2 separate regions of the Homo sapiens genome follow, and region 2 is linked to region 1. The links are contacts of gene promoters, found by promoter capture Hi-C in human tissues and cell types (Jung and others, 2019). All regions are on one chromosome and are shown on one strand. The core of a region is centred on a gene start or on the middle of the fragment in contact, and the rest is flanking DNA. Distances in the headings are between cores, read along the strand shown. Region 1 holds the start of CRYGN (crystallin gamma N). Region 2 has its middle 13 kb from the start of NUB1.

Region 1 (2,700 bases), core at 87-2,586:
CCACCCTGTCTCTCTGTGTTTTGTAGGTCACTCCTTTGGGTAGCAGGCATGTATCAGATCTGGAGCTCCATCACCCTGCTGGGAGTTCAGACATCGTGTCTTATAGCTACGTGGCACTCACAGGTTGTCCTTGTCCCGAAACAAAACAAAGTGAAGCAATAACAACCCGCCAGACTCATTTCCTGCTGTGGAACCTAAAATCTCAACCATTTAGTAACTCTTTGGGTTTCAAGAACTGTGGCCCTAGAAGGGTCCTGCCAGAGTGCAGTGATGTTCCCCATCACTATGGTCGCTTGTGCCTCACCAGTGTCTCCAGTTCGCTCAAAAGAACACGAGAATTGCCCTTCCAGGCCCCTTGGAGTCAGGCGTGGCCACATGCGTTCACCGGAAAGGAGGCAGACACCTTGGCGTTCTGCACCCCAGAGTTACTGGGGCCCTTTGTTACTGAAGCATCACCTGGCCCATGCAGACTGATACAGCAACACAGTCACCCCCAGACACTCTGGAATGTGGCCTTGGAGACCAAAGGCTTCATGGGAGTGGCTAGGCTAGGGGCACTGGAGAGGGCGAGGGAGAGCCAGGTCTCCCGTCCTTCCTGCACCAGGCACGGCTGGTAGAGGGCCCCTGAAACCTTCAGGGAGGTCTGGGCACCAAAGGGATTCGGGGCTCCCTCAAATCTCAACATTTTTCAGAGAACCAGCCCTAAGTGTCCCTGAAGAGACCCTGGGAAGGAAAAGCCATAGAGGCCAGCCTTGGGCAAAGAAGCCGCAGCAGTGGGGCGGAGGGCTGTGGGACAAGCCAAGCCTCCCCCACCCCAAGGAAGCCCCAGGGAGTCTGAACACCCTCCCTGCTCCTGACTGCAGGGCGAGGGGTTGGAATCCCAGAAGGAAGGAGTGGAGATGGAGACCTTCCTATCCATCCACACCAGAGAGGCCCCAGGCCAGTAGCGAGGCCACCCCATTTTATTAAGAAATTAAACCAGCTTCCCTTGGATTTGTCACCATCAACAGTGTGCACCCTCCTGCATCCCCTAGCACAGGGGGCGAAGGCGGAGCCCCACTCGGTTTCCTTGGGGTTGAGGGACGCACTCACCTTCCCCGAGCGCTGCGCCATGGTGCGCCCCGCCCCTTCCGCGGGTCCCCGTTTACACCGGGCAGCGCCCTGCTGGCTCAGCGCCGCCCCGGACAAAAGATTTGCTGGGCCGGCCCCGGAGCGTTAGTGCTGTCGGGCGTGCTAAGCCCGAGGGGCCACCAGGCGGTTGGGACCCGCCGCGGCCACCCTGTGCCACCGCGAGTGCAGCCCGCCCTGCCCGGGGTCTCCCTGTGCTCTCCGCGTTTAGCTCCCGAGCCTCCTTCCTCCCTGAGCCCTCCCGCCCAGCCCGCGGCTGCCCCTGCCCTGCCCTGGAGTGGTGGGGGGAGGAGGGGAGGTGTCTCTCTAGCCCTCCAACCTTTCTTCCCCTGCGCTGCCCCTCAGCCCTCACGCCCATCTCCCTCCCTCCCAAGGCCTGTTCCGAGCTCCCCAGCCCACTCCCCTTTCTCACCTGGCTGCAGGTAGTCTCGCCTTGGTGCCAACTTGTTTGTCTCCACGAGGATGCAACCCAAGCTTCCCCGGACAGACAGACAGCCCTTGACCGCCCCTCCCCTGGCTGCTCTGGTCTGAGCTCCCAGGTCCCCACCTTAGACCTCCGGCTCCAACTCACCCAGCTCCTGATGCACCCCCCCACACCCCACAAAACGCCAGGCCAGGTCAGGCCTCCCTCCTCCCGCTCTCTTCCTGCCTGCCTCCCTCCCTGGCACTCTCCCTCCCTGGGTCCCTCTCTCCTTGAAGATCCTGCCTAGGGTGACCAGGTGACCCGCGCTGCCCTGAGCTGGGGGTACAGTGCTCTGCCCCTTGCCTCTCTGCTGCACCAACTAAGCCACCCTGGACGCCCAGGATCAGTTTACAGCACAAAGCAGCCCCACCGCGGAGGGAGAGTTCCCCAGGGCCCAGAACGAGCACTTGGCAGACAGCAGAGGCTCAGAGATTGTGGAGTGAGCAGAGCGAACATGGAGCCCACAGGATGTGCAGCCCCCACACGGCTGGGGAGATGAGCTGGGAACACAGGACTCATGACTCAGATGGCTGGGGTGGTGGGGGACAGGCTCTGAGATCAAAGGAGAGAGGGGCAGGTGCTCCACAGGGGCTTCTGCTGGAGGGGAGGGAGGAGCTTTGGGGAGGAGTTTGGGCTGCTCTTCCTTCAAACAGTATATTTTTATGACCATTTCACAGATGAGACACTGAGGCCCAGGAAGAGGAGGTTATGTGATTCTTGGGGCAGAGGGGTGACCTTGCCTCTGCTGTGGGAGGTTTTCAAAAGTAGACAGGGTACAAACCAGAACCTGCATGTCACCCTTGAACCCAGGGACGGTCCTCCCTAGGGACGCCCCTCCCTAGGGACGCCGCCCAGCTGCCTCCACTGGCGCCCTTACTTGCCAAGCCACACATTCCAATGTTTCTCTCTGGACCTGGGCCCTGGTGGGGACATAAAATTAAAAACAAAATCTCCAGCCAACCCAGAAAACTTCTCCACGAAGGTAGAAGGAAAAAAAAACAATTTTATTATTGAATAAACTTTAAACTGGAATGCGATCTGCATCACGATCTCTCCCCTAAGAGATCGCAAAGATGGAGAGAGATCTCACTCTTCTGTAGCCAAGCAGA
Region 2 (3,015 bases), core at 127-2,626, 110 kb before region 1:
TGCAAGTTTATTTTGGTGCAAAAAATTTTTGAAATTTATGTATAGCTTTTTTTGTAATAATACATTGTCCATGAACTTTTTGTAGGCCCCTCATATATACACATTTAGCCAGACAGTGTTTTTCTAACCATAGGTCATGGACTATTAGGCTTTGGACATCCTCCAAGGTGTCTTCTGATGTTAACAAGTGGGTCAGCTAAACAGTCTGACTCACAAGACTGTCATAGCCATATATGGCATTAAATTCACGTAGAAGGATATGGGACAGTGACATGGTCTGAATGTTTGAGTTCTCCCAAAATTCATATGTTGAAGCCTAACCCCCAAGGTGATGATGCTGGGAGGTAGGGCCTTTGGGAGAGACTAGGCAGAGCTCTCATGAATGCGATTAGTGCCCTTATAAAAGAGGCCACAGAGAGACCTCTCACCCCTTCCATCACATGAAGACTCAGAGAGAAGACGCGATCTGTGAATTAGGAAGTGGGCCCTCACCAGACAACAAATCTGCCAATGCCTTGATCTTATACTTCTCAGCTTCCAGAACTGTGATAAATATGTTCCTGTTGTTTATAAATTCCTCAGTTTAAGGTATTTTTGTTATAGCAGCCCAAATTTCCTGAAACAGACCACAGGGCAGTGTGGAGTATTCTTCCACAGTAGCAATCATTACAGCAGTCTATGGAGACATCCACACTGTCCTCCAGGTGTTCTCCTGTATCCTGCACCCCAGGTGATGTGGCACAGGTTCAAGGAAATGAGACTCACATCAGATGGGTTCAAGAGCCGTCCTGACTTGGAAGTCTCATGACCTACACAGGCATAGCTCTTGTAAGAATACCATAGCTTCCTAGTATCTGCGCAGTACATACTTAATTGTAAAAGTTAGTACATGCAGGGACATCTGATGTGTGGAGTCCCCATTAGGTCTCTATAATATACTTATAGTTCCTCCTAGCCCAGGTGCAATTTATCAGCCAGGGGTTATTGAATCATAAACAATGTCCCTTAATAACAAAGCTCACATTCTACCTTCATCAGGTTTCAAAAGGAAAGGTCTAGAAAGTTAAACAATGGTTACATTCTTATGCAGAAGGAGAAAGGGTTGCGTTAACCATTTACTCGCAGACTTGAAATCGGTGGGGTGGTTCTTACTATGGTTAAATGACCCCTCCAAAACTCGTGTTGAAATGCCATTGCCATTGTAACAATATAGAGAGTGGGACTGTTACCAGGTGATTAGGCCACGAGGGCTCTACTCTCATCAATGAGTTAACGTCATTGTTGCGGGAGTGGGTTTGTTATTGCAAGAGTAGGTTGTTATAAGAGTGAGTTCAGCCCACTCCTTCTCTCTCGCACTCACTTGCCCTTCCACCCTCCGTCATGGGACGACACAGCATGAAGGCCCTTGCCAGGTGCCGAGAAGATGCTGGTGGTATTTCTTAGACTTCTTAGGCTCTAGAAACATGAACCAAATCAATCTCTTTTCTCTACAAATTACCCACTCTATGGTATGTTATAAATTATCTAGTCTGTGGTAAACAGACTAAGACAGTTGTCAAGTAGCATTTTTTAAAGAAGATGTAATTGAATAAAAATAATCAGAGTGTACTGCATGTAATAAGGGTAATCACTGTTTTATGGACTTGTAAGTTTTTGTTTCTATTTTTATTTATTTATTGTTTTGAGACAGAGTCTCCTTCTGTTGCCCAGGCTGGAGTGCAGTGGCGTGATCTCGGCTCACTGCAACCTCTGTCTCCTGGGTTCAAGCGGTTCTCCTGCCTCAGCCTCCTGAGTAGCTAGGATTACAGGAGCATGCCACCATGCCTGGCTAATTTTTGTATTTTTAGTAGAGATGGGGTTTCACCATGTTGGCTAGACTGGTCTCAAACTCCTGACCTCAGTGATCTGCCAGCCTTGGCCTCCCAAAGTGCTGGGATTACAGGTGTGATCCACCACACCCAGCCTTCACTTTTTCTAATGGAACAATTTGCATTCATTCTTAATCCTGGGATAGGGAGGGTTATGATGCATGCAGGACATTTGGTATATGATAAAGGTGGCATCTTAAATCAATGGAGAAAAGTTGGTCTATTTGATAAAGAGTGTAGGCTGGGTGCAGTGGCTCATGCTTGTAATCCCAGCACTTTGGGAGGCCAAAGTGGGAAGATGACTTGAGCTTATGAGTTTGAGACCAGTCTGGGCACCATGGTGAAACCCCATCTCTACAAAAAATACAAAAATCAGCTGGGAGTGGTGACTCACACCTGTAATCCCAGCACTTTGGGAGGCTGAGGCGGGTGGATCACTTGAGGTCAGGAGTTTGAAACCAGCCTGGCCAACATGGTGAAACCTCATCTCTACTAAAAATACAAAAATTAGCCAGGCACGGTCAGGCATGCCTGTAGTCCCAGATACTCAGGAGGCTGAAGCACGAGAATCGCTTGAACTCGGAAGGCAGAGGTTGCAGTGAGCCGAGATCACACCACTGCACTCCAGCCTGGGTGACAGAGTGAGACTCCATCTCAAAAAAAAAAAAAAAAAAAAAAAAAAAAGCCAGGTGTGGTGGTATACACCTATAGTCCCAGCTACTCAGGAGGCTGAAATAGAAGGATTGCTTAAGCCCAGCAGGCAGAGGTTGCAGTGAGCTATGATTGTGCCACTGCACTCTTGTCTGGGCAACAGAGTGAGATTCTTTCTCAAAACAACTACAGCAGCAAATAGCAGAGAGACAACTGAATAACTATCTGGGTAAAAGCAAAGTTTGATCCATATCTCACACAGTTCACCAGGATGAATTCCAGATGAATCAAAGATTGTAGTGTAAAAAATGAAACCACTGATAGGGGAGTTAAGAAGACATTATTCAGGCAGATAGTGAGGGTATGGGAGTCCTCAGTAAGGTTTTCCTTTTAATGAAAAACAGCCCTAAAATCATTTTCTTTTCTAACAAAGAGCGGCCTGGAAAATTGAGCTGCAGACATAGACAAGTAAGCTGGAAGCTTGCACAGGTGAATG

What was found. The method cuts DNA at HindIII sites, captures the fragments that hold promoters and counts their contacts. A contact is called where the count stands out against the background at its distance.
Region 2: a fragment that was not itself captured here is called in contact with the fragment with the promoter of CRYGN in region 1 in 4 of the 25 tissues and cell types used here (IMR-90 fibroblasts, liver, lymphoblastoid cells and 1 more).

What each region holds. Positions count from the first base shown.
Region 1 is chr7:151,438,805-151,441,504 of GRCh38, forward strand. It overlaps CRYGN (crystallin gamma N), which reads right to left and starts at 1,337. Exons shown (of 4, transcript NM_144727.3): 1 at 1,093-1,337. The coding sequence starts at 1,113. RefSeq lists enhancers at 116-616, 617-1,117, 1,829-2,365. The HindIII fragment of the contact is 10,973 bases long and covers 1-2,700 here.
Region 2 is chr7:151,327,652-151,330,666 of GRCh38, forward strand. No RefSeq gene overlaps it. Among named protein-coding and RNA genes, the nearest start is that of NUB1, 13 kb to the right of the region's middle. The HindIII fragment of the contact is 5,924 bases long and covers 1-3,015 here.